Regions from separate parts of the Homo sapiens genome. Here all the other regions are linked to region 4. Evidence: promoter capture Hi-C in 16 types of primary human blood cells and fetal thymus (Javierre and others, 2016). All regions are on one chromosome and are shown on one strand. Each heading gives the region's core, a stretch centred on a gene start or on the middle of the fragment in contact. The rest is flanking DNA. Distances are from core to core; before and after follow the strand shown.

The links. The method cuts DNA at HindIII sites, captures the fragments that hold promoters and counts their contacts. A CHiCAGO score of 5 or more calls a contact.
Region 1: a contact is called between a fragment that was not itself captured here and the fragment with the promoter of VWA2 in region 4, in 1 of 17 cell types (fetal thymus). The highest score is 6.2, in fetal thymus.
Region 2: a contact is called between a fragment that was not itself captured here and the fragment with the promoter of VWA2 in region 4, in 1 of 17 cell types (megakaryocytes). The highest score is 5.4, in megakaryocytes.
Region 3: a fragment that was not itself captured here is called in contact with the fragment with the promoter of VWA2 in region 4 in 5 of 17 cell types (total B cells, non-activated CD4 T cells, total CD8 T cells and 2 more); the score reaches 6.5 in total B cells.

What each region holds. Positions count from the first base shown.
Region 1 is chr10:113,712,109-113,714,808 of GRCh38, reverse strand. All of the region lies in intron 2 of CASP7 (caspase 7), which reads right to left. Among named protein-coding and RNA genes, the nearest start is that of CASP7, 34 kb to the right of the region's middle. The HindIII fragment of the contact is 675 bases long and covers 974-1,648 here.
Region 2 is chr10:113,687,793-113,690,492 of GRCh38, reverse strand. The region is part of intron 1 of CASP7 (caspase 7); the gene reads right to left. Among named protein-coding and RNA genes, the nearest start is that of CASP7, 9.2 kb to the right of the region's middle. The HindIII fragment of the contact is 4,707 bases long and covers 1-2,700 here.
Region 3 is chr10:114,792,235-114,794,934 of GRCh38, reverse strand. It overlaps a transcript of ABLIM1 not described here. Among named protein-coding and RNA genes, the nearest start is that of FHIP2A, 28 kb to the left of the region's middle. The HindIII fragment of the contact is 2,304 bases long and covers 228-2,531 here.
Region 4 is chr10:114,237,973-114,240,672 of GRCh38, reverse strand. It overlaps VWA2 (von Willebrand factor A domain containing 2), which reads right to left and starts at 1,419. Exons shown (of 14, transcript NM_001272046.2): 1 at 1,104-1,419. RefSeq lists an enhancer at 800-1,508. The HindIII fragment of the contact is 4,541 bases long and covers 1-2,700 here.

The DNA of each region.
Region 1 (2,700 bases), core at 62-2,561, 530 kb after region 4:
AAAAATATATAAATCCAGTCAGATTAGTTCCTTGCCCAGAGCCATCCAGTGGTTTTCCCATATGCTGGGAAGGAACTCCAGGGTCCTGACCACAGCCCACAGGGCCTACATGAGTTACTACCCCTATTATATCCACTTTTTCCTTCCCACTCCTGCCTCAGCCTCAGGAGTAGCTGGGATTACACGTGCACGCCACCATAACCGGGCAATTTTTTTTGTATTTTGTTAGTAGAGATGGGGTTTCATCATGTTGGCTAGGTTGGTCTCGAACTCCTGACCTCAGGTAATCTGCCCACCTCGGCCTCCCGAGGTGCTGGGATTACAGGTGTAAGCCACCACGCCGGCCCCTGCTTTAATTTTTAAATTCATCACCTGACCTCAAATTACAGAGCTATGTTGTCTCCTGCTAGAGTGTAAACTCTATGAGGGCAGGACCTGGACTACTTCACTGCAGTTCCCCCAGCTTCTACAACAGTGCCAGACACATAGCAGGTGCTCAACAGTGTTTTGTGAATGAGTGAAGAGCGTTTCGTGCTGAAGAAACACCACAGTCAGAGGCCCTGGGCCACCTCTGTTTAGGTGATCAGCTAAATGGAGCTGCCGTCCTGCCTGGTGACCAGCAGGACATGTCAGGGGCAGGTGAGGGAGGGGCAGGCACACTGGTACCCGCACTTCCATTTTGCCAATTCTTGTTGCAAGGCTGCTGCAGAGACACTCATTAGGTACAGCCTCATTAGGCTCAAAGCTCACATATAGGAAGAGAACAGATTTCTGAGAGGGAGTTAATTTAGGGCAGCCCGAACGCAGGACAACTCTTGCTTGAGTATTTCTTTCAGGTGGGAGACCTAATACTACCTGGAAACATTTTTGGAGTAATAAGTTTTCTTCCCTCATTTCCCCTGACTCTCCCATTTCCAGTGTTGAACCTTCATAGCACACTTCAATTACAAGAGCTATCTGGCAGACATAAGCTTATTCAATTAGTCACTCGCTCCCATAATAACCAGGTTGGATCATAAAGGGAGGGTTCTTTAATCAAAATCACACAGTACAGTAAACAAGAATGAGGAACCTCTTTATGTTCTGATGTGGGACAATCTCCAATAAGTCGTGTTAAGTGCAGAACAAAACCAAATTGCAGAACAATGGCAGCAGTGTGCTACCTTTTGGAAAAAAAAAAGAAGAAAAGAAAATATGTTTAGATTTGCTCGTATCTGCATAAAGAGACACTTGAAGGATGGTGCAGTAGATAAATCCATGGATTCAGGGGCTGGGCTGTGTGGATTTGACTCCCTATTCTACTGCATAGCTGTGTGACTGTGGGCAAATTACTTAACCTCTCTGTGCTTGTGCTTCCTCATTTGTTAAAAGGACAAAATAACAGCATTTGCTCAGAGCCTGTAAACAAGTTAATCTTCACAAAGCATTTAGAACAGTGTGTGTCCTGTTGTAAGTGGTAAATAAACATCATGATTATTACTGTTATTGATACAGGAGATAGAAATTATTTAGGCAGATAGTAAGGGTATAAGAGTCCTCCACAGAATTTCCCTTTTAACAAAAAGCAGGCCCCAAATAATTTCTTTTTTTTTAACAAAGAGCAGTCTGAAAAATCAAGCTGCAGACATAGATAAGCAAGCTGGAAGCTTGCACGGGTGAACACCGGCAGCTATGCCAGTAGAAAAGGGCTACGTAAGGGCCAGGTATGTTTAACATGGAGGCTCCACTCTTCCCTTTTCTTTGCCACCACATGTACAGTAAGGAAACAGGTAACATGGCGCTGGCCAGGTGGAGAACCAGCTGCATAATAAAAGATGAGTGTGGGGTGGCCAGCTTTTTCATGCCCTACGCAAATGACACACCTAGCCCTAAACAGTTTTTGGTGCCCTATGCAAATGACACACCTGGTTCAACCAATCTTTTGCATCCTATGTAAATCAGCCACTGCCTCCTCAAGCTCATCTATGAAACGCCTTGCATTCCACTGCGGAACCAGCAATCCATTTCTCTTGGACCCCTCTCTCTGCAGTAGAGAGAGCTCTTCTCTTTCTTTTGCTTATTAAACTTCCACTCTGAACCTCAGTATTTGTGTGTCTGTGTCTTAGTTTTCCGTGGCCGTGAGACAATGAATCTTGGGTATTTACTCCCGACACTGACGCCGGTTCATTATTATGTCTATCTTTCAGCGTGGTTATCTGTGTTACAGGGAGCTGGGAGCAGACAGTAGGCAAGAGTGGAAGAACTCTGTGTAACTTTTTATTATATGCAAATAAGTTATTTAAAACACTAAACTAATAATTGCCATTTAACAGTTAAAAGTCTCTTGCTTGCTACAAACGGATTTCAAGATCTGGCTTATTTTGAAGATCACTGGATTCATACTTTTTTGTGCTAATTGAGGGGGCTCCCTAGACACCCCGTTTTTCTATTTTTCACTGTGACTTTATCCCTCTGCCTAGCCTTTTAAACTTCTTACTCCACTGTGTCAGCAATAACAACAATAATAAATACAGTTATAATAAACATCATTTTTTGATCATTTACCACTTTACATATATTATCTCATTTAATCTTCAAGAGTTCTGTGAGGTATTAGTTCCATTTCACAGAGAGGGATGAAATCAGCTTGTCCAAAATTACAAAGCTAGAGAGGAATAGAGCCTGGATTCATTCCAAGGTGTAACCCCAAGTCTCCTATTC
Region 2 (2,700 bases), core at 87-2,586, 550 kb after region 4:
AACAGGGTTCTATAACACCCCCAAAAGATCACATTAGCTTTCCAGCAATGGATCCAAACTAAGATGAAATCTTGGAAATACCAAATAAAGAATCCAAATGGTTGATTATTAAGTTACCCAAGGAGATACAAGAAAAAGGTGAAAACCAATATAAAGAAAGTTTTTTAAAAATTCAGGATATGAATGAAAATTTTTCTAAAGAGATAGATACTTTAGAGGAAAAAAAAACAATCAGAACTTCTAGAAATGAAAGACACATTTAGGGAGTTACAAAACAAGTGGAAAGTTTTAACAACAGACTAGACCAAGTAGAATAAAGAATTTCAGAGCTCGAAGACAAGGCTTTTGAATAAACCCAGTCAGACAAAAATAAAGAAAAAATAACTAAAAGAAATGAACAAAGTCTCTAAGAAATATGAGATTATGTAAAATGGCCAAAGCTAAGAATCACTGGTGTTCCTGAGGGAGAAGAAAAAGTAAAAATTTTGGAAAATTTATTTGAGGGAATAATTGAGGAAGACTTCCCTAGCCTTGCCAGAGATTTAGACATCCAAATACAAGAAGGTCAAAGCCCTTCGGGGAGATTCATGGCAAAATGGACATCTCCAAGGCATACAGTCAACAGGCTATTACTAATGTCAACATGAAGGAAAGAATTCTAAGAGCAGTAAGACAGAAGTATCAGATAACCTGCAAAGGAAAAGCTATCAGACTAACAGTAGACTTCTCAGCAGAAACCTTATAAGCCAGAAAGGATTGGGGCCCTATTTTTAGCCTCCTTAAACAGAATAACTCTCAGCCAAAAACGTTGTATACAGCAAAACTAAGTTTCATAAATGAAGGGGATATAGTCTTTCTCAGACAAGCACATGCTGAAGGAATTTGCCACTACCAGATCAGCCCGACAAGAAATGCTAAAAGGAATTCTAAACGCTGAAATAAAAGGTCAATATGCAACAGAATAGAACCTCTCAAAAACACAAAACTCACAGGGCTTATAAAACAATAACACAATAAAAAAAACAAAGTATCCAGGTAACAATCAACATGATGATTGGGTCACACCTCAATATTAATGTTGAATGTACATGGCCTAATGCTCCACTTAAAAGATACAGATTGGCAGAATGGATTAAAAAAAAAATCACAAACCAAATGTCTGCTGTCTTCAAGAAGCTGAGCTAATTAATACAAAGGATTCTTATAGAATCAAGGTAAAGGGGTGGAAAAAGATACTCCACACAAATAGAAACCGAAAGCAAGCAGAAGTTGCTACTCTTATATCAGATAAAACAAACTTTAAAGAAAAACAGTTTACAAACAAAAAGACAAAGAAAGTATGATAAAAGGATTGACCCAACAGGAAGATATTATAACCCTAAATATATATGCACATAACTCTGAAGCTCCTAGATTCATAAAACAATTACCACTAGACCTAAGACAAGAGATAGACAGCAACATAATGATATTGGAGAACTTCAATACTCCACTGACAGCACTAGACAGATCACTGAGGCAGAAAGTCAACACAGAAACACTGAATTTAAACTACACTCCAGAACAAATGGACCTAACGGATAATTATAGAACATTCTACCCAAGAACTGCAGAATATACATTCTTCTCATCAGCATATGGAACATTCTCTAAGACAGACCATGTGATAGGCCACAAAATAAGTCTCAATTAATTTTTAAAAATGAAAATCATATCAAGTATCTTCTCAGACTACACCAGAATCAAACTAGAAATCGACTCCAAAAGAAACCCTCAAAACTATATAAAAACAAGGAAATTAAACAGTCTGCTCCTGACTGATTTTTGGGTTAACAATGAAATCAAGATAGAAATTTGAAAATTCTTCAAAACGAATGATAACAGTGACACACATTATCAAAACCTCTGGGATACAACAGAAGCAGTGCTAAGAGGAAAGTTTGTGGTGCTAAATATCTACATCAAAAAGTCTGAAAGATGACAAATTGACAACCTAAAGTCACACCTCCTGGAACTAGAGAAGCAAGAACAAACCAAACCCAAAGCTAGCAGAAGAAAATAACAAAGATCAAGGCAGAATAAATGAAATTGAAACAAAAAATGCAAAAGATCAATGAAACAAAAAGTTGCTTCCTTGAAAAGATAAACTCAGGGGACCATTAGCTAGATTTACCAATAAAAGAAGAGAGAACATTCAAATAAGCTAAATCAGAAATGAAGATGGAGGGCCAGGCACAGTGGCTCACACCCGTAATCCCAGCACTTTGGGAGGCTGAGGCGGGTGGATCATAGGTCAAGAGATTGAGACCATCCTGGCCAACATGGTGAAACCCTGTCTCTACTAAAAATACAAAAATTAGCTAGGCATGGTGGCACACGGCTGTAGTCCCAGCTCAGGAGGCTGAGGCAGGAGAATCGCTTGAACCCGGGAGGTGGAGGTTGCAGTGAGCCAAGATCGCGCCACTGCACTCCAGCCTGGGTGACAGAGCGGGACTCTGTCTCAAAAAGAAAGAAAAGAAAGAAAGAAAGGAAGGAAGGAAGGAAGGAAGGAAGGAAGGAAGGAAGGAAGGAAGGAAAGAAGGAAGGAAAGAAAGAAAGAAAGGAAAGAAAGAAAGAAAGAAAGAAAGAAAGAAAGAAAGAAAGAAAAGAAAGAAAGGAAAGAAAGAAAGAAAGAAAGAAAGAAAGAAAGAAAGAAAGAGA
Region 3 (2,700 bases), core at 130-2,629, 550 kb before region 4:
TCCTCATTACAGCCAGGAAGTTAATTTGCTGTCATATATTCTCAGCATTAGGGAGATTCTTGAATGTTTTCCTGTATTTTTTCTCACTATACTTGAAAAAAATAGATTTGCCAGCTATTCCCTGGTTTTACTTGTACTCCTGAGAGTCAAAGAAAGACAATTTTCACTTCCTTGACATTTTAGCACTTTCCTGGCTATGATCCAGCTAATTAACTGTGGGTCAAGCTTGCTTTAGATAAAGTACTATTTTATATTAAAAAGGTTAGTGATTAGTATGTAGTTTGAATTTTATTTTACAAAATTTCAGCATTAAAAAACATCAGCATCAAGAAACCCCAAAAAACACAAATATGTATCCTCAATTACTGATGTTACTCATTTTTCTAGTTGTATCTCATTTTTCAGAAACCTCAGATGTTCATAATCAAACTTACATTTGTAAATTCCTTTGATTTTTTAAATGAACCTATAAATGGTTCTTAGTAAAAATTCATTCATTCATTCAGCAAAACTTACTGAGTACTTATTATGTGCCAGGTACATTTTTTGGTTGTTGGGCATATGGGAATAAATAAGACATACGAAGTCTATGTTTTCATGGCACTTGCATTGTAATTGGGGATGAGAATCAATAAACAAAAGAGATATAATATATCAAATGGTGACTAAATGTAGTGAAGAGAAAATGAAGCAGGGTAAGAGGATAGCGAACACGAATAAGTAGAGGGGTCAAGCTATGTATGTATCTGGGACAGAAATATTCCGGAGAGGAAGACTAGTGCAAAGGCAAGTTAACCAAACCTAGTAGGTCCAGACACATCCAGGAGACTTGTGTAGCCACAGCAGAGTCCAAGAGGAGATGGGATCCATGGAGAAGCAGCGGCCAGACTGCATGGTGCCTACAGGAGATGGAAAGGAATTTGGTTTTAGCTTGATCACTTCTGGCTGCTGCGTGAAGAGACTACAGGACTGTAACTGCAGAAGCAGTCCAACTAACTAGAAGATGTGCAAGAGATTTATTAAGAGGAACACCTGTGAGGGGAGATGGAGAGGGTGCCAGAATAGGGTTTGAGAGCTTTCAGACTGCAATGCAGGTCTGACCCTGGTAATAGACAGAGGGAGGGCAAAAGGATGGACGGGAGACTTGGAGACTACAGTACAGCTCTGTGAAAGTTTGGCAAGGCCAGTAGGGAGTCCTTGAGCCCAAACTACCCATCAGAGGAGTCTCCCATCTCCCAGTAATGGGCCTGCTCCTGTGTTCCTGCCACACTCAAGTCATTAGCTGGGAGTAGCCTTTGGGACACCCAGCCTCAGCAAGAACACAGGGATCAAGATTTCAGGTGCAGGAGCTGGGGCCACTGTCAATTATGCTGCACTATCAGCATAAAGTGCAGCATAAAGCTGCACTGCTTTTATAAATACCTGAGGCTGGGTAATTTATAAAGAAAAGAGGTTTAATTGGCTCATGGTTCTGCAGGCTGTACAGGAAGCATGGTGCTGGCATCTGCTTGGTTGTGGGGAGGCCTCAGGAAACTTACAGTCATGGTGGAAGGCAAAGGGGGAGCAGGCACGTCACATGGCCAAGGCAAGAGAGTGAGGGAAGGTGCCACGCACTTTCAGACAACCAGATCTCATGAGGATTCACTCACTATCACAAGGACAGCACCAAGAGGATGGTGCTAAACCATTCATGAGAAATCTGCCCTCCTGATCCAGTTACCTCCCACCAGGCCCCACCTCCAACATTGGGGATTGCATTTCTTTTTTTCTTTTTATTTTTTTTGAGATGGTGTCTCACTCTGTCGCCCAGGCTGGAGGGCAGAGGCGCGATCTCGGCTTACTGCAACCTCTGCCTCCCAGGTTCAAGTGATTCTCATACCTCAGCCTCCTGAGTAGCTGGGATTACAGGCATGTGCCACCATTCCTGGCTAATTTTTGTATTTTCAGTAGAGATGGGATTTCACCATGTTGGCTAGGCTTGTCTCGAACTCCAGACCTCAGGTGATCTTCCCACTTCTGCCTCCCAAAGTGCTGGGATTACAGGCATGAGCCACTGCACCCAGCTGGGGATTACATTTCAACATGAGATTTGGGTGGTGACACAGATCCAAATTATATCAGATCTCCACATAGAGACATTGATAAAGCAGCTGAATATAGAATCTGGGTTCAAGGGAAAGGTCCAAGCTGGAAATATAAATTTGAAAATCATCAACATATGAACAGTATTAACAGTCATGGGATTGGATTGGTTTACCCAAGGAGCCTCATGGATGGAGGGAAGAAGAGGATCAAGACCTGAGAAGGAGAAGAGGAGAATCCCACAGAAAGAAGAAGGAGCAGCCAGCAGGAGGTAGGGGAACCACAAAGCAGTGGTGTCCAGGAAGCCAAAGGAAAAAGTTGTCTGAAAGGATAAATTCTCTGTTCCTTATTCTACTTCTTTATTCTTGATATCTATTAAATGAAAGTTATCTGATGTATCAGTATCTTGCTAAGTGGGCCTACTAAATAATCAAGAAGGAAATAAAGCTTATAAGAATACTGACTTTGTGACCAATTCAAAACCTGTGTCCACCATTCACTCTGTGTCCTTGGGCAAGATTCTTTTTTGTGTGTGACAGGGTCTGGCTCTGTCACCCAGGCTAGAATGCAGTGGTGTGATCTTGGCTCACTGCAACCTCTCCCTCCCAGGCTCAAGCC
Region 4 (2,700 bases), core at 170-2,669:
TGACCTCTTCACTTCTCTGACTCTTCAATAAATCGACATTTCTTAATATAGTGTCACCTTAACAGCAAAAGAGACCTTGAATTTTTGGGACTGAATTTATAAAACACTTAGAGGTTCTGGGGTTTTACTTAAAGCAGCTTGTAATTTGAAAAATGTACACGTTCTAATTATTCCAATCTCCAAGACATCAAACACATGGCATGAGGTCCCCATTGCTAAGTCCCCTTTCAGCTTCAGCTGGAGCCCTTGATTCCACAATCACAAGCAGCAAGGTGCCCTCCTCCCTTCTCTTCTGTCTGGTGCCCCCAGCAAGTTTTCAAGGTTCAATTCTGAGACTCTCCCATTCACCGTCCCAGCAGGTGGCCAAGGGCCCAAGGCGGGAGGGAAAGGTCGGCTTAGCTAGGGAAAGTTTTGTTAGCCTTATTGGAAGGGAAGGAGACATGCAGGAAGCAGGGCTGAGCCAGGTGGGGGAAGTCACCAGAACGACAAACCCCTGGACTTCCCACTGCCCAAGCGCGAGGACTCTCGGGGCAGCCGGCCCCTCTCAGGTTCTGCTTGCAGACACTTCGCTGGGGGCACTCGTTCTGCCTGGGAAAACTGCCCCAAGTCCCCTTAACACCTGTGTATGTCCTGTAGTGGGGTGTGGGGTGGAAGCGAGCATGTCACCAAAGCCTTTATTCAAAGGGCGAGTCCCTTTCCGCGGCCGCCAGGGAAGGGGGCCCCGCTACTGTGCCAGGAGGGCAGCTTGGGTTTAATACATGCCCTCCTCCACCCCTGTACCCGGAGCCCCTACCCACTTACCTGCTGACCGCACCCCTCCCAAAACCCCGCCAGCTCGCCCGGGACGGACCGCGAGTGGCCACGAGGGAGGCGCGCGCCAGGTGCGCTCTTCCCCCGACGCCGCCGTGCCAGGAAGGCCGCGCTCAGGTGCGCGCAGACAATGCGAACAAAGCCCGCACCCTCGGCGGGGCCGCGCAGCCCGGGTGCTCTGGGTAGGGGTGGCTGGGCAGAGGGGGCCCCAGTACCGGGAGCGTGAATCGGTCATCGGCAGCCGGCACTGGCGGGTACCCGGGCGCCAGAGCCAACTCGGGGCTGGGACTCACCGGAAGGAGAGCGGCGACCAGCGCTCGGTGCCCGGGCGGCTCTACTCACAGACCCGGGCGCGGCTCGGGCCAGGGGGCGCTACGGGATCACAGGAGGGGCGCCCGGGGCGCGGCTGCCACGTGGGACACCTGTTTGTCTCTCCTGGGAGAGGGCGGCACGACCCGACCCGGCTGAGGTCGGAGGAACTACCGCCAGGGAGGTGCATAGAGCCCCTCGCGTTTTTTAAAGCGGCATCGGCCCAGGTCTGCAAATAAAAAAGTACTTCACTTCTACGCGGGTCACCCAGCCTCCGAGCGGTGCAGCCGCGAACACTGTGCCGTCAGCTGACTCCTCCACGGGCTTTATAGCTCCTTGAAAAAATGTTGACTTTGGCATCTTTTCTATTTGTCATGGCAATTGCCTTTTAATTACCTGTCCCTCCTATTGTTGCAGTTGGGTAATAAGCCGACCTTTTGGCCATCATCCTTGCTTAAGATTGGAGGGCGTTTGATTTTTAAAAAATCAAATGCCACAAAGCACAATGCTGAGCATGATGCTTTATATAAAGTAAGCTCTCAATGAACGTTGACTATGACTGCACAATCCATAATTTCCATACTTCATTTAAAAACTGCCAGAGCATGCCTGTTCATTGCAAAAAAAAAAAAAAGAAAAGAAATAACAGTAAAAAAGTTGATAAATCAATCATTTTCCAACACCCAGAGATAATCAGTTAACATTGTGGTGTATGTTCTTCCAATGTCATTCTACCTATGCAAAAATTTATATATTTTTAGTTCATTCCATACAAGCTGTACATTACTCAGGTTTTCCATTTCCTTTTTTTGAATGTCCGTTTTAAGCCACTTCATAATGTCCTAATGTACTTAACCTATCTGCTATTGTTGAATATTAAACTTTCCATTTTAATAATACAATTAGATGTCTTTGTGCTTTTGTCCAATTAATTCCTTAGAATAAACTACGAAAAGGTAAATTTCTAGGATACAGGTTTTATACAACTTAAGACTTTTGATGCCTATTATCTAATTGTCCTCAAGGAAGGTTGACCTGCTTCCTCTTTTCCATGCTCCTTCCCATTATTCTTGTAAATGTCAATCTGATAGGAAAATAATTTGCTTTACACCTTTCCTGTCTGTAGTTCTCAGTTAATTTCCAAACCTCCGACACTGACAGCTTCCAGTGAAAGTGGCCCGTGGTGACTTTAATGTTGCAAACCTCATTGAAGGAGGCTAGGAAAGGACTCATTTTTCCTGTAATTCATTTCTCCCAGTAACATTTACTGAGCACCCAAAAATAAAAACAGGGCCACACCAGAGCAGCAGACATAATGTACCACCACATCATCCCCACAGGGGACAGCAGTTAGTCTTGAGGTCTAACTGCTGGGGAGGGATGGTCTCTGCCTCTAGATCAGCATTGCCCCAGAGAAATACTGACCAAGCCACGTGTGTAATTTTAAATGTTCTAGTGGTCACATTTAATAAAAAGTGAAAAGAAACAGCAAGCTGGATTTCAGTATTAACCTAAACATCCGGAACATTATCTCAACATGTAATCAATAAAGATGTTTTATGCTGTCTTCAAAGTCCTGTT